7 separate regions of the Homo sapiens genome follow, and regions 1, 2, 3, 4, 5 and 7 are each linked to region 6. The links are contacts of gene promoters, found by promoter capture Hi-C in blood cells and fetal thymus (Javierre and others, 2016). All regions are on one chromosome and are shown on one strand. The core of a region is centred on a gene start or on the middle of the fragment in contact, and the rest is flanking DNA. Distances in the headings are between cores, read along the strand shown. Region 1 has its middle 61 kb from the start of MSN. Region 2 has its middle 10 kb from the start of LAS1L. Region 3 has its middle 13 kb from the start of MSN. Region 4 overlaps MSN (moesin). Region 5 has its middle 230 kb from the start of EDA2R. Region 6 holds the start of VSIG4 (V-set and immunoglobulin domain containing 4). Region 7 has its middle 36 kb from the start of MSN.

Evidence for each region. The method cuts DNA at HindIII sites, captures the fragments that hold promoters and counts their contacts. A CHiCAGO score of 5 or more calls a contact.
Region 1: a fragment that was not itself captured here is called in contact with the fragment with the promoter of VSIG4 in region 6 in 14 of 17 cell types (M0 macrophages, monocytes, neutrophils and 11 more); the score reaches 22.0 in M0 macrophages.
Region 2: a fragment that was not itself captured here is called in contact with the fragment with the promoter of VSIG4 in region 6 in 11 of 17 cell types (activated CD4 T cells, fetal thymus, monocytes and 8 more); the score reaches 9.4 in activated CD4 T cells.
Region 3: a fragment that was not itself captured here is called in contact with the fragment with the promoter of VSIG4 in region 6 in 8 of 17 cell types (non-activated CD4 T cells, activated CD4 T cells, neutrophils and 5 more); the score reaches 8.4 in non-activated CD4 T cells.
Region 4: a contact is called between a fragment that was not itself captured here and the fragment with the promoter of VSIG4 in region 6, in 14 of 17 cell types (M0 macrophages, neutrophils, monocytes and 11 more). The highest score is 16.4, in M0 macrophages.
Region 5: a fragment that was not itself captured here is called in contact with the fragment with the promoter of VSIG4 in region 6 in 4 of 17 cell types (naive CD8 T cells, total CD4 T cells, total CD8 T cells and 1 more); the score reaches 6.1 in naive CD8 T cells.
Region 7: a fragment that was not itself captured here is called in contact with the fragment with the promoter of VSIG4 in region 6 in 10 of 17 cell types (neutrophils, naive B cells, monocytes and 7 more); the score reaches 10.3 in neutrophils.

What each region holds. Positions count from the first base shown.
Region 1 is chrX:65,604,845-65,608,130 of GRCh38, forward strand. It overlaps a transcript of MSN not described here. Among named protein-coding and RNA genes, the nearest start is that of MSN, 61 kb to the right of the region's middle. The HindIII fragment of the contact is 2,023 bases long and covers 374-2,396 here.
Region 2 is chrX:65,543,317-65,546,412 of GRCh38, forward strand. No RefSeq gene overlaps it. Among named protein-coding and RNA genes, the nearest start is that of LAS1L, 10 kb to the left of the region's middle. The HindIII fragment of the contact is 178 bases long and covers 1,644-1,821 here.
Region 3 is chrX:65,653,440-65,656,455 of GRCh38, forward strand. It overlaps a transcript of MSN not described here. Among named protein-coding and RNA genes, the nearest start is that of MSN, 13 kb to the right of the region's middle. The HindIII fragment of the contact is 5,100 bases long and covers 1-3,016 here.
Region 4 is chrX:65,677,845-65,680,832 of GRCh38, forward strand. All of the region lies in intron 1 of MSN (moesin), which reads left to right. Among named protein-coding and RNA genes, the nearest start is that of MSN, 12 kb to the left of the region's middle. The HindIII fragment of the contact is 1,055 bases long and covers 1,117-2,171 here.
Region 5 is chrX:66,403,854-66,407,091 of GRCh38, forward strand. No RefSeq gene overlaps it. Among named protein-coding and RNA genes, the nearest start is that of EDA2R, 230 kb to the right of the region's middle. The HindIII fragment of the contact is 4,229 bases long and covers 1-3,238 here.
Region 6 is chrX:66,038,478-66,041,400 of GRCh38, forward strand. VSIG4 (V-set and immunoglobulin domain containing 4) reads right to left here and starts at 1,603. Exons shown (of 8, transcript NM_007268.3): 1 at 1,467-1,603. The coding sequence starts at 1,521. The HindIII fragment of the contact is 1,000 bases long and covers 1,100-2,099 here.
Region 7 is chrX:65,630,457-65,633,596 of GRCh38, forward strand. It overlaps a transcript of MSN not described here. Among named protein-coding and RNA genes, the nearest start is that of MSN, 36 kb to the right of the region's middle. The HindIII fragment of the contact is 6,924 bases long and covers 1-3,140 here.

The DNA of each region.
Region 1 (3,286 bases), core at 135-2,634, 430 kb before region 6:
ACTTCACCTATATGACTGAAGTGGCCTCCTTCCTGGTCTCCCTGCTTCCATACTTACCTCCCTACAGTCAATGCTCAACCCAGCATTCAGAGTGATCATGTTAAAAACAAAAGTCGGTTTATGTCATTCCTCTGTTCGCACCTAGCCCATGGCTTCTCCAGCACACTCAGGACTTACAATCCTATTAAAGATGCCTCAGCCTCTGTCCTGGGCTCCAGATTAATGTTTGACATCTCCATGTGATAAATTACCATTTGATAATTTGACATCTCCATTTGGTTTGACCTTTCCGTTTGGTAAATTACCATTTGGTAAATTCTCCATTTACCACTGGTAAATCAAAGACAGCCAAAACAGAACATTGCCACTCCAAAGCTTGTTCCTACACAATCTTTCCTGCCAAAGAAACATGGCACCATCATCCACCCAGGTAGCAAGCCAGAAATCTAAGCGTTAGCTTTGCCTCCTCTTTCTTATTACCCCTAACCATTCAGCCTATCGGCAAGTCCTGCTACACTCAGAATATATCCCTAACACATCCACCTCTCTCTTCATTTACTTCCCACCAATCCAGTCCAAGTCCCTATCATCTGTCAACTGGATGACTTGCCCTAGCCTCCTTACAGGTCTCCTGGCTTCTACCCTTGCCCCCTACAACCCATTCTTTACAATAAATCCAGAAGAATCTTTGTAAAACATAGATCATGCTAATCCCCTGCATGAAACTCTCCAGTGTCTTTCCATCACATGAGGACCACAAGCCAAATTTTTTGCTATAGCCCAAAAGAGCCTACATGATCTAGTCCCTGCAAATGTTTCCAACTCCTTCTCCTACTACTCACTCCTTTTCTCACCGTGATTCAGCCACTCTGATCATTTTTCTGGTATTTGAACAGCTCAAACCCATCACCACCTCCTCTCCTTACTAATCACCTGATTCACTCCTTCCTCAGGCATCAGCTCAGATATTCACTGGCTCTGAGAGACTCTTTTCCATATCCCAGACTAAGAAATTCCTTCTGTGTGTCACTCTCACAGCATCCCGTCATTCTCCTTCACAGCGTTAAGCCTAGGTTCAATCGTTAATTTCATTAATTGATTAATCAATCAATTTTTGAGACAGGGTCTTGCTGTGTCCCCCATGCTGGAGTGCAGTGGCATGATCACAGCTCACTGCAGCCTTGACCTCCCAGGCTCAAGCGATCCTTCTACCTCAGCTTCCTGAGTGACTGGGTCTACAAGTATGCACCACCATACCGAGGATTTTTTTTGTTTTTTGTTTGTTTTTATGTTTTTTTTTTTTTGAGACAGAGTCTCGCTCTGTCACCAGGCTGGAGTGCAGTGGCATGATCTTGGCTCACTGCAACCTCCGCCTCCTGGGTTCAAGCAATTCTCTGCCTCAGCCTCCCGAGTAGCTGGGATTACAGGCGCCCACCACCATGCCCGGCTAATTTTTGGATTTTTAGTAGAGATGGGGTTTCACCATCTTGGCCAGGCAGGTCTTGATCTCCTGACCTCGTGATCCACCCGCTTCAGCCTCCCAAAGTACTGGGATTACAGGTGTGAGCCACCACACCCGGCCTGTTTTTATGTTTTGAGACAGAGTCTTGCTCTGTTCCCCAGACCGGAGTACAGTGGTACAATCTCGGCTCACTGCAATCTCCACCTTCCAGGTTCAAGCTATTCTCCTGCCTCAGCTTCCTGGGTAGCTGGGACTACAGGCATGTGCCACCATGCCCAGCTAATTTTTGTATTTTTAGTAGACGAGGTTTTGCCATGTTGGCCAGGCTAGTTTCAAACTCCTGAACTCAAGCAGTTCTCCTGCCTTGGCTTCTCAAAGTGCTAGGATTACAGGTATGAGCCACTGAGCCCAGGCTGATCATCAATTTAATTACTAGATTGTAACCTCCATGAGAACAGGGACTGTCCATCGTAGAATTCTGTCCCATATGCCTAACACAGTAGCTGCAATATAGTATTAATTCATTTGCTTATTCATTCATGCAAAACTATTTATCAAACAGTCACTATTTGCAAGTTACTGTTCTAGGAGCTTGAGGTACAAAACAGACATAAATGACTTGCCTTCATGGAGCTTATATTCCAGTGGGTCACACACTGAGTGGCAGGAATTATATTTGATATTTATTGGATCTGTGATATTAAGCCTGAGTAGAACTGTATTACTTAGTTTATTCATTTATTCAACAAACATCTAATGAGTATTTTCAATGGACCAGGTATTTTATACATCTTTTCATTTAATCCGTGAAATAACCCTGTGAGAGAGATATCACTAGCCCCATTTCTAAGAGAGAGAAATTGAGGCGAGAGAAGTTTAGCAACTTGCCTTAGGTTAAGTAGTAAGCAGTCAAGTGCATGTAGTTTGACCACAAAGCTTGCCAGCTTACTCATCACACTATAACATACTGCTTTTGACAAGTCAGTTCTGGCTCTAAAATGATACAAAGGAACCCCTGCAGGGCCTCTGACCCAGAGGGAGATCTTGAGAAAATGAAGCTATGGAGAAAACTCCCAGCCTACACCAAGCCTGATATAACCCCGATGTACTCTCCATTCCTTGTGGTGATAGAGTAGACCTCATAACTGGGTTTCCTTTGACAGATGGGGAAAATAGAGACACAGGGTCAGGGAAGGAGTCACCCAAAGGCACATTTAGCAGTGAAGAAAGACCCTGGCACCCTTGTATTCATGATATCATAGAATAAGGCACTGAGAGTTAACTTCAGGAAGGAGACCAGTGGTGGTGGCTACAGAACAAGTACCCAATTGTCAATCTTAAGCCTGGGTTCTTGGGTAAGGTCCTGTCTCCATGCCTTTATGTGAACCCAGGAGGTCTTTGCTATTCCAGACCATTCCCTGCCCTCACTTCCAATTCTGCCCTATCCTGAGCCAAATGTTTGAAAGACAGGAGGCAGGGGACATGGTTCTGGGGCTCAACCTCTCCCACCATAAAGGCAAATATAAGGAAAAGTCACTGGGCGTGGTGACACATGCTTGTAATTGTTGCTACTCAGGAGGTTGAGGCAGGAGGATCACTTGAGCCCAAGTGATCTGCCCAAGTGAGCCCAAGACTCTGTCTCAATTAAAATTAAGAAATAAAAAGATACAAGGAAATGTATTCAACACTGAAAGGGAGGCAGGGTGCAAGGGCAGGTGGAAAGGGGCATAGCCCTACCAGACTGCCCTTCCCTGAGGTGCAGGACAAAGCTCTGTCTGTGTAGTCATCTCTGCGAACTGATTCCAAATGCCACGGTGTGGGGCA
Region 2 (3,096 bases), core at 483-2,982, 500 kb before region 6:
GGGAAAGGGTAGTTATCATCTTTGTTCCAAAGTTAAACTGTAAACCAAGTTCCTCCCAAAGTTAGTTCGGCCTATGCCCAGGAATGAACAAGGACAGTTTGGAGGTTAGAAGCAAGATGGAGTTGGTTAGGTCAGATCTCTTTCACTGTAACAATTTTCTGTTATAATTTTGCAACAGTGGTTTCAATATGGGGTTCACTATGTTGCCCAGGCTAGCCATGAACTCCTGGACTCAAGCGATCCTCCTGCCTTGACCTCCCGAAGTGCTGGGTTTATAGGTATGAGCCAGCATGCCAGGCCAACTCCAGCTCAATTAATGATACAAGAAGCATCATGGTATTGGAAAAGGAGCTATCATTTATTACTTCTCTACTACAGACTGGATGCTTTACATAACACTTTCTTCCTTATTTATATCTTCTTATCTTTCTCGTGTGTGTATGGGTGTGTGTGTTTTGTCTGCTTGTTTGTTTTTTGAGACAGAGTCTCGCTCTGTTACCCAGGCTGGAGTGCAGTGGCACAATCTTGGCTCACTGCAACCTCTGCCTCCTGAGTTCAAGCAACTCTCCTGCCTCAGCCTCCCTAGTAGCTGGGATTACAAGCATGTGCCACCACACCCGGCTAATTTTTCTGTTTGTTTTTGACATGGAGTTTTGCTCTTGTTGCCTAGGGTGGAGTGCAATCGTGCAATCTCGACTCACTGCAACCTCTGCCTCCAAGGTTCAAGTGATGCTCCTGCCTCAGCCTCCTGAGTAGCTGGGATTACAGGCTCCTGCCACCTCACCCAGCTAATATTTTTTTTTTTTTGTATTTTTTAGTAGATACAGGGTTTCACCATGCTGGCCAGGCTGGTCTCGAACTCCCGACCTCAGGTGATCCGCCTGCCTTGGCCTCCCAAAGTGCTGGGATTATAGGGGTGAGCCACCACGCCCAGCCTTGAAGCTCCTTTGTGAAGCCTGTAGACCAAGTTTTATTGTTTCCATTTTCTAGATAAGAAAACAGAGGCTCAAGAAAGTAATGTGATTTTCCCAAGGTCATACTGTAAGTGACAAAGCAGAGACTGAGACCCAGATTTCCAACCCAAGTTCTCTTTTTATTATGCTGTACTAGAAGCAATGGGGTGAATTTATTTATATCCCGTGTGATCCTGTGGACATGTGAATTTGTATCTGTAGGTGCTTTACTGGGAACTCCTGGAAAACAGGGGTTATGAGCTGATTGATTTCCACAATTCTTACAGCAGGATCCTCCATATTAGGAAGCAAATGTACATAGAAAGTAAGGGAGGAAAGAAGACAGAGAAAATAATGGAAGGCTGGCAAGAAGAAAAATAAAGTAGAAGAACAAAATGAAAGGTAAGAAAAAAGAGAAAAAAGTAAAGGGACAGAAAGAAATAATATACATTGCTACATGTGTTGATTAAAGAAAAGAAATAATTCTCTGTGATTTGAAAGGTCTTTCAGAAGCAACAGATATATTGGCAAGAACATGAAGTTAGAACTCAGGGAACCGTGGGTGCAGAATCTACCTCCTACTTAAATGCTCTATTACTTTGGCTGAAATTACGTCCCCTTCTAAGTCTGTTTCCTCAACCTGCAAAATGTGGTTAATACATGCTAACTTTTAGGGTGATTTGTGAGGAAAGCTTGAAAAAAGGAAAGGTGTTTATGGCATCTGACAGGAACTCAATAACAGCATTCCACACCTATGGTTACTCCCACTGAGAGCCTAGAGCCTCAGCCATTCCAGGACTGTTTAATCTTCTTTCCCTTCCAGGTTCTCTATGGGCAGACGGCGAAGGTCTTGGATCAGGTGCTCCAAAGCTTCCTCCCTGAGAACCCTGACTCCAGCGAGGTATAGGTACAGGCCTTCAAGACCCAGAAGGAGTCACAGTCAGCCTCTCAGAGGATGCTGGCTGCCTGGGGAAGGTGGTAGGAGGAGGAAGAGGTGGTGTGTTGAAGTGGTTAAAATCAGGTTTGAATTCAAAACAAATAACAACAAAAAACCTTGTGAATAATCCACTGTTTACTAGCATGTGGATAATTGAGAGTTGACCATGTCCTCTGAGCCTGCCTCAAGCCTTTCATTATTTGGGTTATATGTCCCTTGGGCCTTTGCTAGTTGACCCCTGGCTTCAACTACTGTGGTATACCAGTTAGGGCAGAGGTGATTACATAGGCCTGAGCTGGGAGGCTCTGAGCCTTAATTTTCCTGATTCTCCTTCCCCTCACATTTAGCAACTGATATCCTAGATGAGTTCTGCACTCCCCTATAAGCTCAAGCCAGGGCTGGACTGGTGCCCTTTTTCTCAAGTTTGTCATGGAGCACTTTGGCCATGATGTGAATCTGGCTAATCTTTGGCCTTTTTCTAATCTTCATCCCTCTTACCACATCCTGGCCTCTTTCCCGGCCTCCTGAATAAGTCTATATTTGCACCTCAGGATTATATCTGTCTTTTTGTTTTTCTCAAACTCTTCTCAGCCTTTCTGCTTCTCTTGGAATATCCTCCACTTTCCTTTACTGCCTCCTTCTCTTCAACTTGCTGAGTTTGATTAGGATGGAGGTGCCTTACATGGTCTGGTTCATGATCCTTTGCAAAGTGCCTTCTGCCTTCTGTCTGACAGTTTTCAGGGAAGGTAACTAGTGCCAAATACCAAACTAATCCCAGAAGCAAGTTTGCTTTTCCTCTTTCTTTCCTCTTCTATCCCTCTTCTTTCCATCCTTTCAAACTGAGCCACTTCTACTTGCCAGGTTTTGTGTTGGGAACTAAGAAAACAAAGAAATCAGATGGAATCCCTGCCCTCAATGAGATAAGCACCTCCCCAACCTAGGTCTTTGCCTCTTACTAACAATGAATTCTTTGGCAATTTGTTTAGCATTTCTGGGCTTTGCTCCTTAAATAAGTAGAAATCGGGGCTGAATATGAGTACTGTAAGAGAAGCCAGAGGGAATGCAAAAGAGGGAGTGATCGGTTCCATCTCTGAACAACAGTGAAGGCGCCCTAGTTCATTTCTGCTTCTATAACAAAATACCGCAGGCCAAGATAATTTATAAACAACATACATTTATTTTTCATAGTTCTAGAGGCTAAGAAGT
Region 3 (3,016 bases), core at 332-2,831, 390 kb before region 6:
TCTCAGAAAAAAAATAATGTTAAAATGTGTTCTGGTCTGAGACTAGGGAGTAAAGAATGAGAAAAAGTGTTTTAGGAACGTAAGTGGTGGGAGGAAGGGGCTACTATACATTAGGCTGACTTGGAAATACAGATTAGGCCGAACAACACACACACAAGCAAATGGGCACATAAACAGGCAAGCATGGGAGCCTGTTTGCTCCATGTGTATGTTATCCATGTGTATGGATAACATACACATGGCCAAACAAAGGCACATCTGGGGGCCCAGGAAGACTCCAGAACCTACATTTATATACCACATACACATAGCTATGACCACACTTTTTCTATGTGGAAGTATGTATTTTTTGAGATGGAGTTTTGCTCTTGTTGCCCAGGCTGGAGTGTAGTGGCGCGACCTCGGCTGACTGCAACCTCCACCTCCCGGGTTCAAGTGATTCTTTTGCCTCAGCCTCCCGAGTAGCTGGGATTACAGACGCCTGCCACTACACCCAGCTATTTTTTTGTATTTTTTGGTAGAAACGGGGTTTCACCACATTGACCAGACTGGTCTTGAACTCCTGACCTCAGGTGATCCGCCTGCCTCGGCCTCCCAGTGTGCTGGGATTACATGCGTGAGCCACTGCACCTGGCTCTATGCAATCATTTTATGGAGACCCTTCTTTTTTTTTTTTTTTTTTTTGGGACAGAGTCTTCCTCTGTCGCCCAGGCTGGAGTGCAGTGGCGCGATCTCCACTCACTGCAAGCTCCGCCTCCCGGGCTCACACCATTCTCCTGCCTCAGCCTCCTGAGTAGCTGGGACTACAGGCGCCCACCACCACACTCAGCTAATTTTTTATTTATTTTTTTTTTGTATTTTTTAGTAGAGACAGGGTTTCACCACATTAGCCAGGATGGTCTTGATCTCCTGACCTCGTGATCGGCCCTCCTCGGCCTCCCAAAGTGCTGGGATTACAGGCGAGCCACCACGCCTGGCCTTGCAAAGACCCTTCTTATAGCCAACCTTATATATCCTCCTGGCCAAAAATATTGGGAGGTAGCTATTATTATTACCCCAATTTTTACAGGAAACTGAGGCTTGGGTTAATCAACTGATTTACCTAAAGTTGCTGAACTAGTTATTGGAAAAACAGACTAAAACCAGGTGTTCTGTTTCCAAAATTTACTGCTTTCAAGGTGGCACTTTCTCTCTCTCTCTTTCCCTCATACATATACTAAAGAAAAAAAAATGTGCAGCTATCTTGCTATATATACATAAAGGCATATACGTATGAATAAAGCATATACACCACCAGTGGCCAGTAGGAGTTTTTGGGTTGTGCTCTCATGGAGGTCTTAGTAAGAGGAGAAGGGTCTGCTCAAAGCCCTGACCCATCCTGCTTTCTGTTCCTTGTCCAGTCACCTATGACTGTTTTTTCAGAGCGTTGTAGGTGGGAGCTTTTTATGCCAGGGTAATAGTTTTTATTGGCCCTGCTGAGATGAAGTCTTTTATCCCCATACCTCAACACTTAGGATGTGGGGAGTGGTGAAAAAATATATTATATTCCTTTTTTTTTGTCTGTCTCCCTCACTAGGTTGTGAGCCCTGTAAGGGTAGAAACTTTTGTTTTTTTCATGTCTGTATACACAGAGCCTAGTACAGTGCCTTTTGTGTAGTAAGCATACACACAAAAAATTGTTGAATGAATGAATAATAAAGTCAGATAGTTGAATGAATGAATAATAAAGTCAGATAATAAAGTCAGATAGGCTTGTTTCATTATAGGATGAATAATAAAGTCAGATAGGCTTGTTTCATTATAGGATGAATAATAAAGTCAGATAGGCTTGTTTCAAGACCCTACTTATAATGAGATCATGGCCAAGTGACCTTACTTCCTTGAGCCTCAGTTACCTTATCTGTCATATATGGATTGACACTCTGATTACCTAAGATGTTCTTGGTAGTGAATGACATAATGATTTGAAAATGGCTCTGTTTTTATTTGAGGGCTTCTTACATATTGATTTTATAGACCCTTAGGGCATAGAAATTTTCTCTTCAACCTCCCAGAGTATGGGGTCATGTAACCTTTGTCAACAAACTTTCAATTACGAGGACCTCAGTACTTTTTGAATGACTCTCTCCAGTTTTGGACAGCTGTGACTATACAAACCTTCTCCCTCGTGTCCCACTGTGGCTTTCTCCCACTTGATCCAGCTCTGCCTCTTGGCATTCAGAAGTCTGATTCAGAAGAAGACATAGACATCTCCCTGAATCTTCTAATAGGTCTAATAGATCAGAAACCTCTTTTCATGATAGCTTGTGGTTTTTTTGTTTTATTTTGTTTTGTTTTGTTTTTTGAGACAGAGTCTTGTTCTTGTCGCCCAGGCTGGAGTGCAGTGGCGTGACCTTGGCTCACTATAACCTCTGCTTCCCGGGTTCAAGTTGTTCTCCTGCCTTAGCCTCCCAAGTAGCTGGGACTACAGGTGCCTGCCATCATGCCTGGCTAATTTTTGTATTTTTAGTAGAGACAGGGTGTCACCATATTGTCCAGGCTGGTCTCGAACTCCTGACCTCAGGTGATTCACCCGCCTTGGCCTCCCAAAGTTCAGGGATTACAGGCATGAGCCACCATGCCTGGCTGATAGCTTGTGTTTTCAAAAGGCTGAATTATTGTATGGATATACCATAATGTATTTAATTAGTGCTCTGGTGATGGACATTTATGTTGTTTCCCTTGATTATTATAGTATTGCAGTGAATGTCTTTGTAAATGCCTCTTTGTACACAGTATAGTGTTTACCTAAGGCAGACTGGGAGCAGAGCTGAAAAGATCTATGCCTGTGTGTGTGTGTGTGTGTGTGTGTGTGTGTGTGTGTGTATTGTGTTTGTTGTTGTGAGTTGGGAGAGAGAAAGTGATGACATAGGAGAATCTGTTCCATTAGTCTTGTCTCCTAACAGGATAAGTTGAGGCAATGTGAAGGGGAATGTGTGCCCTTAGAGAAACTGAACATAATACAAGTTGATAGGCC
Region 4 (2,988 bases), core at 394-2,893, 360 kb before region 6:
TTGTAGATCTAGCATATGCTTGGTGGGGACATCTGCCATTTGCTTTAGGGTTACACTACATCTTTCTACTTTGAGTGCTTGAAGAGTTGCTCCAGCAGGGCCTGATGTGGGCCTGGTGAAAATCTAGCCTAGTTGCCTTTCTGTCTGCCATAGCCTGGGCATTTTCCTAAGGTTGGGAGTTTTTTTCCTTCTGGTCTTAGGCCAGTTGCCAGAGGAAACCGATGACTAAAGGCTTCCTCCCTGCAACGTCAACTTCTGGAACCTTTCCTGATGATTCCTACCAGTCAAGTCTGCCTTATTTGGCTATTTTCTCCCCCCTCAAGTTACTCCCTCTCCTTGCCACCCCACCTCAACTAGTCCTCTGTTCTCCTTTAGTACAGGGAATGCCTTCTTCAAGTTTATACAATACCACCTGCAAACTTCTTTTCTTCTTGTTTAGAGTCCTAATATGGGGGAGGAGTGGGGAAGGAGAGAGGAAGATGGGAGAGCTCTGGAATGACTGTGATTTCTCCACCCTGCTTTCTTATCTCCCTTTATCCTCTTGGCACTGCCTGGTCACTCCTCTACAGCTTCTTACCTAGATCTCTGACAGCCTAGGAGTGGTCTCGATTGGCCTAAAGAGGTTCAGAGTGTGGGGGTGGGATGGGGCTAGGGCTTTCAGCATTTGAAACTATTTCTTTGGAGCAGGTAAAGCCTTCCAGTTGGTAAGTCTAGTTCTTTAAGTATGCCTGTTGTATGCCTAGCCTTCTCACTTGGCTTTCCTGGGTGGGCTGAGTCTAAGTTCCCTCTACCTCCCCTTCCCAGTCCTGAGCTGTCTAACTTTAGGTTAGAAGAGCTGAGCTTTTGACACTTACAGCTTGGGGCACTTGTCTGGGTGTCTTTAAAAATACCTTTTAGTAAAAAATGGTACAATGGAAAGAAGAGTGAGATATTTGGTTTTTAATCTCTGCCTGTGTGACCTTGGGCAAGTCACTTTTATGAGGCTTAATTTTCTTATCTACAAAATAGAGACATTGGCTTTTTCTGACATTCTGATTATTTGTGCCCAGTCTTTAAGAGGCTAGGAAAGGGGTCTTGGAAAGCGTGTAGCAGAGCAGAGTGGTGACTTTTCGGAGAAGCTTCCTTTTCCCATTTAGAATGGCATTGAGTGTGTCATTTTCTCCTCTGGCTATCAACATGTAAGCAGCCCCCTCTATTTCAGTGAGCTCTGCTCTGGGATATACTGAATCTACCTACCAGAGAGCTCACTGTGGAGATTCTGGCTTGGAGAGACAACTGTTGACTACATGCCTTGGGTGGGGTCTTGGAGTCCAGCCTGCAGACTACAGTTGCTGGCTATTTTTGGTCATCTGTGACTCAGGAAGAATAGAAGACCCTTGGATTGGTCATTGTTCCATCAGGGAAAGGGAAGACAAAGAAACAAGCTAAAACTGAGGACATATGAGATTTCACTTCCTTTACTCCCTCCCCCACAACATCCCTTTTTGTAGGGCTATGAAATTGCTTTTGACTGAGTCTTAAATTGCTAAGCTCCCTTTCCCCTTCCTCTATCTGAATCATTGTTGACTATGTTGCCCTTGGACGGGGAGAGCTAGGTGATATGGGCTTGGGTGGAGCAAAAGGGAGAATTTCTAGTCAGGAAGATTGCCACACACCTAGTGTTGGGCTTTCAACTGATCCTGTATTTTGTAAATATGGTTTCCTTTGGTATTAGTCCTGGAGATCAAAGGAGAGGGACTTCTGAATTTTCTGTGAGGGCCTACAAGGCTGATAGGGAATAAGCAAGTTTATGGGAAAGGTGTACCCTTCACTGGATCTGTTTTTACCCATCCTCTACTTCTTCCTCCTTTTCGTCCTTCTCACTGACACTTTATCCAGTGCTTGCTTGTGAAACAAGGATCCCACATTGGATCTCAGCCACCTAAGAGTTGGCCATGAACATAAACCTTACCTGCTCTGAGCCCCCTGGAGAAAGCACAAGAAGTCTTGGCATCTGTTTTCCTTCCTTTAGAAACAAGTTCCTTGGGCATCCTTGGGCAGTTTAACCAGAGAAGCCTTAGTTGGGTAGTGCTGGGCAGTGCTGTTAGGGGGAAGATTCTTCTCCAGCATTGAGCTGGAATGGCCTGTGGGCTATGCAGGAGCTTGCTGCTGGAAGCAGCTGCCTTGCTGGAAGCTTCTCATTCTTCCTAGGTACCTCACATGGGTTGTTAGCGATGCCAGTTGTAGGTGGTGGATCAAAATGGCTGTTGGTTTGGGAAGGTAGGCAAGCAGGTGGAGGAAGAAGGAATGTAGAGTCAAATGGAAGAAGAGTGGTTCTTTTTTTATATTTCCCCTTTTTTTAAAACTCAGCATGGCATATGACAAAGTTTAGCAAATAGAGAGAGAAATTGTGTATAAATTCATCATTTTAACATGGCAATAATTATTTGTATTTCTTGTCGTATCTCATATATGTACCTTAGTTTTTGGTGGTGCAATCATAGTGTACATAAAAAAGTTCTCCTTCTTTCCCCCTACTTAACACATCACTAAAAACTTAGATAAATGCTATTTAATTTTAAGAAATGAACATTCTAATGGCCATGTAAAATTCTATTCAAAGGCTATGCCATAATTTAAAACCATTCTCCTTTGGGGGAGCATTTAGATTACTCCCAGCATTTGCTAGTATAGATACATTCCCATGAATGTGAAAAGAGAAAATTGAAACCTCTTAGCATAGCATATAGGGAGGTCCCTTTGGTACCTCACCCCATTCTAGCTTCCTCTCCCAACTCAGCTCCCATTTATTCCCACATGTATGCTATGTGGTAGCTTTGTGGGCCCAAGGTTTCCCAAGTCCAAGTAAGCTATACCCGTCCTTTTTCTTTTTTTCATCCAGCTTTTTCAGGTTGAATTTGTTTTGTTTTGTTTTGTTTTTTTGAGACAGAGTCTCACTCTGTTGCCCAGGCTGGAGTGCAGTGGTCCAATCTTGGCTCACTGCAACCT
Region 5 (3,238 bases), core at 230-2,729, 370 kb after region 6:
GGTTATGTTTTTTTCTATACTGTTCATTTTGTCTGTCATCTCTGCATTGTTTTATCATAATTTTTCTCTTTCTTGGATTGTGTTTCATTGTACTTCTATAGCTGAATGATCTTTATTTTTATCCATATTCTGAATTCCTTTTCTGTAATTTCAGCCATCTCAGCTCATTTCAGAAGATCATTTGGAGAAAAGAATGCACTATGGTTTTTTAGTTGTCAGGATTCTTGCACTGATTTTTTCTTTATTCATTTTTGTGGGCTTACCTTTCTTCAATCTTTGAAGTTGGTGATGTTTGGATTTTTTTGTTTTATCTTATTTGATAAACTTGAGGGTTTGATTATGGTATAAGGTGGATTAAGCTGAATGGTTTTATTTCTGGAAGATTTTTGGGGTCCAAAACTTAGCTCCCAACTCCAGACTGCATGCTCTAACTCTGGGGGACTTGTATTGGGCCCTGACTTTGTTCTGTGGCTCTTTGAGGTTAGAAATTCACTGTGCTGGTGGGACAAAGTGCTCCCGGACAGCTAGTCCCTGCACTTCGATGGGTGGTGCCAGCCAAAGCATTTCATTGTGCGGTGACAGTGAAATCCATTCTCATTTGCACATGGCAGCATCAGCAGCAGTATCGGCAGATGCAGCACAGTGCTAGGAGATGCTGGTGTGCCTAGCTACCTGTGGCCTTTCACAACAGTGATGGAGACAGCACAGCTAGGATGAGGGGGTACACTGCTAGCTAGTGTGTGTGGTCGTGCTGGAGGTGGTGGTGGCTTGGGGGGTGGGCACTGATGGGTGCAGGTATGGGTGCCTTCCCTATGGCCTACAAGCAGGAATAGTTAGTTGTTCAGGGCAGGAGATCATCTTTTGTTCTCTGTGCATTGTTAGTGTAAGGATGGAATGATGGAAGTGATGGGGCTGGCTGGATTTTTCCCACCAATGGTTTGTCTGCAATGCCAGTTGGGGTGAGGTGATTCAGGCTGTACCTCTGCATGCTGGCAGGGAAAGGAAAGCAAAAACCACCTGCACAGACATGTGCCAGCAAAGCAATGTGGGAATTTTCCATCCCAGGGGAAGGTACAGTATGGGGAGGGAGCATGTGGGCTTGCATGGCCCTAGGGTCTTTCCTGCTGAAGTTCTCTGCCAGTCAGCCATGGTCCACAAGTGCAGAATGTATAGTCTGTGCCCCTAGGGAACCGAAGGTTGCCCTGCAAGCAGGTGTGGCCAGATGAGACCCCAGGACAGGCCAGCAGACCAAAGGGTGCTGAGGTCTGACCTGCTCCTTCTGATTGGCAAGACCACTCTGCAGAGTTCAGAACTGATAGTTCCCCTAAGGCTAACATCTCCTACAGGAGCAAGTTGAGCCTAGGACGATGGCTGTCTCTGGCCATTCTCTGTACAGATGCTCCTTCATCAAACCCTCTGGGTTCCACATTAGCTGGTTTGCTGCTCCTATCACTTATCTAAGAAGCTCTTCCTGCCAACTGGAGTGTCTGTGTTGGTCAAGGGGTCTCCTGCTGCTGGGGTCCCAGGGAGTATGTTGAAAGTGGGTTGCTCTTTGCTGTTCAACTCACCTATTCCCATGGAGCCATTGTTGACCAGGAATAAGTCTGGGTGTACTGCAGCCCTGCCTAGTGTTTCCAGCTTTCTTCCAATTCAGCCGAGCTTCTGTGTCTTCCTTACATCGACTCCTGTTGCCTTCTCTCTGGAGATCTATTAGGAGCACCTCCAGTCATCTCAGTTCCTTGGTAGGAGCTGTTACACCTGGCTGTGTCTAGTAGGCCATCTTGCCCTTTCCGTGGTTTCTGCAACATACTTCTAAACAACCATTCAGTCAAGGAAGAAATCACAAAAGAAATTAGGACATATCTTGAAACACATGAAAATGAAAACACAACATACCAAAACTTAGGTATAATGTGAAGACAGTCCTAGGTTAGAAATGTATAGCTATAAATGCTTACATTTAAAAGAATAAAGACCTCAAATCAACAACTTAACATTACACTTTGATAAAATAAAAAAGAACAAACAATTCAAAACTGGTAGAAGGAATAAAATAATAAAGAGTGGAGCAGAGATAAGTAAAATAGAAAATAGGAAAATAGGAAAAATGAAGTGTTGGTTCCTTGCAACTATCAACAACATTGATCAAATTTTATCTAGATTGACTATGAAAAAAAGAGAAGACTCAATAAGCAAAGTAAGAAATGAATTAGGGGAAATCACTACCATTTATAAATTAAAGCAATCTACTCCTAGGTGTATACCCAAAGAAATTGAAAGCAGAGATGTGAACAGATACTTATATGTCAATGTTTATTGAACTATTATTTGTATTATTTAAAAGGTTAAAACAACACAAATGTCTGTCAACAAATGAATGAATAAACAAAATGTGATATATACATACAATGGAATATTATTCAACCATTAAATGAGTAATGTTCTGATATTTTCTAAAGCATGACTAAAACTTGAAGACACTGTTCTAAGTGAAATAAGCTAGACAAAAAAGGACAAATATTATATAATTCCACTTGTATGAACCACATAAAATAAGCAAATGTATAGAGGCAGAAAGTAGATTAGAGGTTAGCAAAATTATAGAGAATGGGGAATGGGGACTTAGTGCTTAATTAGTACAGAAGTCCTGTTTGTAGTAAAAGAGTCTTGGAAATTGATAGTGGTGACAGTGGCAAAATCTTATAAATGTAATTAATGCCACTGAATTGTACACTTATAATTGGTTAAAATGTCTAATTTTGTATCCAATGTATAAGCACATTTACTACAATTTTTAAAAATTAACAATGTAGGTGATACCCAATGTAGGTGTTGTCCCTTCTAAATCTCATGTTGAATTGTAACCCCCAACGTTGGAGATGGGGCTGGTTGGGAGATGTTTGGATCATGGTAGTAGATTTCTCCTGGCATGGTGCTATCCTTATTATAGTGAATGAGTTTCCATGAGATGTGGTTGTGTAAAAGAGTGTGACACCTCCCCCTATTCTCTCTCTTTTTGCTCTTGCTTTTCTCATGTGATGTGCCTGCTCACCTTTTAAATATAAATTTCAACTTTAAGTCACTGATTGGCCCTCACATCTGAGCATAGTTTGTTAGAAGCAGACAGGCCACATCTTGAACACTTTGCTGGTTAAAAACTTTTATTCAACAGATGCTTGAAGTCATCACTCTTAAGTTCAAAGTTTCACAGATACTTAGGACATGAACACAATACAGC
Region 6 (2,923 bases), core at 353-2,852:
CTCTCACACACACACACACACACACACACATGAATGCACACACACATACACACACACAAACAAAGGATTTAAATTTAACATTTCTAAAATGCTCCCTCAAGCCCCAGGCTTAAGCCCTAGCTCAAACCAACAGACTTGGAGAAGGTAGAGAGATACATTATAAAACCTGCTAGAGAATGGAAATGTGGTAGTTATAGAAAGAAAAATGTTTTTTCAGGAGCATTAACTCTGCCACTAATGCTCTTTGGCTTGGGGGCAAATTATTTTTTCTCTTGGTTGACTTAATTCAGAGTCTTTTCTAACTCTGAGGTTCCAGAGTGTGATGGGTCACAGAGCCCCAGGATAGGGTAACCTAATCAGAGTCAGCTACGGAAAGCTGGATTCTTTCTGACCTAACAAGTGACACCAAGCTAACACCTATCCAGCCTTTTTCTCTAGGGATGATAGGGAAGCAGCAAAATCCCCCTTTACCCTATATTGGATCTCACTTAGCTGTTACCCAGGTTGAGTTTCCTGAAAATCCATCTCACTTCTCAGGAGTGTAGATGAGGATAGAGCTTCCCAAGCTCCAAGGAAATAATGCCACTATGGAATAGTCCATCCTCCTTTGGGATTTGTATCCAGCCCATAAATAGCCCAGACAAATTGAGCCATGTCTATAGGGAAGTGAGTTATCCCAGGAATGGGTAAGAAACCAAGTCCTATGAAGACCAGTTGAAAAAGCTGGGGCTGTTCAGCTTGGAGGAGAGAAGAGTCAAGGAGACATAGTACTTGTCCTCAGGGCTTTGAAGGGCTATCACAGGGCAAGGAAGCATCTATGTTCTGTGTAGCCCCAAGAAGCAAAGCTGGGGTTTTTGGATGGAAGTCAGAGGGAACTGGATTTAGTTCAACACAAATAAGAACTTTCTAACAGTTGGAGCTGCTCCTGGATGGACTAGATGGTCTGGGGAGGTAGTGAACAGTGAAATCTCAATCACTACTGGATGTTTCTGAGCACTTATTCATGACAATGAAGGGTGGTATAGGTTACTTCTATAGTCCTATCCAACTCTTAGAAAACACTCCTTCTTCGGGGGCTGTATATTTTAACAGAGACCAAAGCTTGGAAGCAGAGTGGTTAAGTCCAATTGTAGAATTTTAGATGAGAGACAGCAGATGGAGGAAAGATTCGGATGTCATTGGGAACCTTCTTGATGCCCCTGAGATACAAGCCCTAGAAAATAATGCAGATGTTTTCCAAGAGAAAAATCCTTTTTCAATTTCTGCCCAAACTTGCCTTCTGGCTTCTTCAGCAGCCTTCAACTACATCCATCCGTTTTGCTCAAGGCTGAGAGAGCCTGCAGAGTTTGGCTGAGAAGACTCACCTGCCCAGTAGGAATAGGCTTTCCATAGTAGACATTAAACACCAACCCTCTAGCCTTTTGCCTAAGCCAGCAATGGCAGCCAGGCCCCCCTTTCTGCCTTACCATAAGTGTCCACTGTTAGGTGCCCCAGGAGTAGCAGGCCCAGTAAGATCCCCATCACAGCCAGAGCTACTTCTGTCCTTTCTTCCAGCCTCCTGCTACCAAAGAGGCTCAAACTTCTGGTGGCCGCCAGCGTCTGTGACTGCTTACTTCCCTTCCTTCCCTATATCTCTCACTCAAACTCCTAGTCCCATCACACATTCCCCTTCCTTCCCTATTTCAGTACAGGTCATGTGGGGTGCCCCCCTTCCCCCACCTCCTTGGGGTTGGAGGTTCCAGGATGAGTGAAGCAATTCTTCCCCCTGCTAGGGTATTGACTTGACTTTCCTTGGAGCCAATGGGGCTTTCTGGTCTTTGATCTCCTAGGCTGTATTTATTTTGAGTCTCCTCCACAAGATTCAGAGGTTGTGGGGGCGACCTTTGGGATGAGTCTTCCCACTCCAGTATGGCGGTGTTTTCCTTTGTGGTGAGCCCAGGGAGAAGAGATCAACTTTGCTGACCTACCCAATTTTCATTAGTTGTACTGTTAACCCTTGCCTGTGCAGCCTATGCAACTGGACAGGGTGTTGGGCCCGGGGTGCTTTTGGGCTTAAGAGTACAAGAGTTTAGTGTATTAAAGGGCTTTCTACACATCAAAGCTTGAATAATTGACAAGCCAATGGATAAGGCTGTTATGGGTGAATATGCCTCATATCTCATATTGGGGAAGCTCTTTGAATCACTTTCTACAATGGCTCCACCTCTCTGATGGTAAGGGAGAATTCATTTTCATTAATGTTCTCCATGCTTTTTCATAAGGAATTTATTTTTTACTTCTTTTAAGGGAAATTTAAGCCTAGCCTCCAGTGCAGCAGCCCATTAGTGGTATGCTGTATTAGGTTGAATTTTTCATTGACTTCCAATTGGTACAGGCCCTTGACCTACAAGAGAGTAATATTATGCCTCCTAGCAAAGCTCAACTGCTCCAGAAATTGCTCCTCTTCACAGGCCCCAGAGTGACTGTAATTTCATCAGCAGTCTAACTAGGTTTGGCACTGCGCTTTGTCTACTAAGCTTTGAAACAATAAGCACTTTCAAAAGCACAAATACATCCCAAAAATTCATACTGCACTGTAAGTAACAGCTAAGCTTAGTTTACTCTTTGATTGGAGGGATAGGAAAGGACTTGGTCAGGGGAGGGAGGAGTTTGTGCAGAGATGGGGAGTGGGAATATAAAGAAACATACTTGCCAAGGGGTGGCTGCATGCAGATGATTTGGAGCTGTGCACGGGCTAAGGAGACATTCCAGCATTTCAGGACACATTATTACATGGAATTCTATCAATCACCTCTGCCTCTAGGGCCCAATCCCCCTTGGCTGGTTGTTCCTTGTTTTTTGAGTACTGCACTCATTCCATCTCACTGGAAATTTCAGCCATTTTTTCCCACCGGGTCCTCACTCAGGAAACCCTGAACTTCAC
Region 7 (3,140 bases), core at 433-2,932, 410 kb before region 6:
GTACCTGTAATAATCCCAGCTACTGGGGAGGCTGAGGTGGGAAGATCTTTTGAGCCCAGGGGCTGGAGGATGCAATGAACTATGATCGTGCCGCTGCATTCCAGCCTGGGTGACAGAATGAGACCCTGCCTCAAAAACAAAACAAAACAAGCAAACAAACAAAAACCCTCAAAAACCCTGCACCTTTTACCAGTCACTCCCATTCCTTTCACCCTCCTTACCCCAGCGCTAGGCAACCACTAGTCTACTTTCTATCTCTATGGATTTGCCTTTTCTGAATATTTCATATAAATGAAATCATACATTTTGTGGTCTTTTGTTACTGATTTCTTTCACTTGGTACAATTTTGCATGGTTCATATCATATCATGTGTCAATACTTCCTTTTAAAAATTTTTTGAAATTTTAATTTTGAGATAATAGTAGATTTACATACAGTTGAAATAAATACTATAGTCCCCTGCATTTTTCCTCAGTTACCTGCACTCATAAAATCTTGCATAACTATTGTGTAATATCACAACCAGGATATTGACATCGATATAGTCAAGATGCAGAACATTTTCACTACCACAGAGATCTCTCATGTTGTCCTATTATAGTCACACCTACCTCCCATCTACCTCTATATCCTGCTTCTTTTTTTTTTTTTTGTCTGAGACAGAGTCTCGCTCTGTTGCCCAGGCTGGAATGCAATGGCGCCATGTCTGCTCACTGCAACCTCCACCTCCCGGGCTCAAACAATTCTCCTGCCTCAGCTTCGAGTAGCTGGGATTACAGGCGCCCACCACCATGCCCGGATAATTTTTGTTTTTTTAGTAGAGATGGGATTTCACCATGTTGGCCAGGCTGGTTTTGAACTCCTGACCTCAAATGATCTGCCCACCTCGGCCTCCCAAAGTGATGAGATTACAGATGTGAGCCACCGTGCCCAGCCCCCTACATCCTTCTTAACCGCTGACAACCACTATTCTGTTTTCCATGCATTTAATTTTGTCCTTTCAAAAATGTTATATGAATGGATTCTTACAATGTGTAATCCTTGAGATTGACTTTTTTCACTCAGTATGATTCTTTTAAAGTTAATCCAAATTGTCACCTATATCAATAGTTCATTCCTTTTTACTGCTGAATAGTATTCCATGTTATTGATGCACCGCAGCTTGTTTATCCATTCACCCACTGAAGGACATTTGGGCAGTTTCTAGTTTGGCGCTATTATTATTACTTTATTTTGAGACAGGGTCTCACTCTGTTGCCCATGCTGGAGTGCAGTCGCATGATCATGGCGCACTGCAGCCTCAACCTTCTGGGCTCAAGTGATCCTCTCACCTCAGCCTCTCAAGTAGCTGGGACAAGCATGTGCTACTACACCTGGCTGATTTTTTCATTTTTATATTTTGTAGACATGGAATCAAACTAAAGACCCAGGCTCGTTTCGGATTCCTGGGCTCAAGCAATCTTCTTGCCTCAGCATCCTAAAATGTTGGGATTACAGGCATGACCCACCCCACCCCACCATGCCCAGCCTGGGCTATTATTAATAAAACAGTTATGAGCATTCCTGTACAGGTTTTCTTGTGAACAGAAATGTTTAATACTCTGGGATAAATGCCTAAATATGCAGTTACTGAGCGATGGTTTGAATGTGTCCCCCAAAAATCATGTGTTGGAAACTTAACCCCTAATGCAACAGTGTTGGAATGTGGGGCCTAATAATAGATTGTTAAGCCATGAGGCTGGAGTGAATGGATTAATGCTGTTATCGTGGGAGTGGGCTCATTATAAAAGGGGAAGTTTGGCCCCCTTTTACCGTCTCTTCCTTACCCTTTATTTGCTCTTCTGCCATGGGATGATGCAGCAAGAAGGCCCTTGCCGGATGCTAACCTCTCGATTTTGGACTTTCGAGCCTCCAGAAAACATGAGTCAATAAATTTCTGTTCATTATAAATGATCCAATCTGTGGTATGCTGTTGTAGTAGAATGAAATAGACTAAGACATACTGGGTCACACTGTAGCTGCATTTCTAGTTTTATAAGAAACTACCAAACTATTTTTCAGAATGACTGTATCATTTTACATTCCCAACAACAATGTATGAGTGATTCAGTTTCTTCACATCCTTCACTGATTCAGTTCCTTAAATTTCTTCACATCGTTGGTGTTGTCGCTGTTTTTTTAATTGTAGCCATTCTGATAGCTGTGTAGTGATGTCTCTTTGTATGACTTGGGCATATAGTACCTACCTCAGTGGGACTCGTGAAGGTTCACGTGTATAAAGTGTCTGGCACAGCTAGATAAATGTTAGCTATAATTATTACTACATAGATGGAGATGACATGGTCCCTGCCATCAAAGTAGTTATTATCTCGTGGAAGACAAAGATGTGGAAACAAATAATGTTAATCCAGATTGCTAAATGGAGGAGTCATGATCCAAAAAATATGGGACTCCAGACTGAAGATGAAGGATCATTAGGGAGGATTTCTCAGGAGAAGTAATCCTCAGCTAAGCCTTGAAGGATAAGTTAGCTTAGCTAAGCAAAGGGAGGGCTGGCATGGATTCATTTCAGGCAGAGAGGACAGAAAGGGCATATTATGGTAGCCACAGATTTAATATGGCTGTAGGTTAGGGAGGTAGTAGTGGGAATAAGCCAGAGATGTAGCTGGGGAGGACATTGTGAGGGATCAAGCAAGGACCTACTTGTTACAAAAAAAGAGTTTAGACTTTACCCCCATAGACATTGGAGAGCCACAGAATCCCCAAGGGTGATATCTGACCGAGGTGGAGACTTTTTTTGCACCCCTTTTCTTCAGAAATTTCTGCCCAGATGCCCACTGGAAAGGAGGTGACTTCTTCATGGGACCCTTGGTAGGCTGGCATGCTCCCTTTTCAAGGGCTTCTGTTATAAAAAGCTCTTTATGCATTAGGCATATTTACAATTCTTCTCTAACCTACCACCAAACAAAGCACAAACATGGCCATAAACACTTAATTAATCACATCTCAGTTCTGATTAAGACAATAAACCCAGATCCCAGATTTCCATTCTTTAATTCACTGCCCCAGTGTGACCTGTATTTCCCCAGGCCTCTCACAGGCTTTCCTGCTCTCTCCTTTGTCCCTGCTCTAGTGAAAT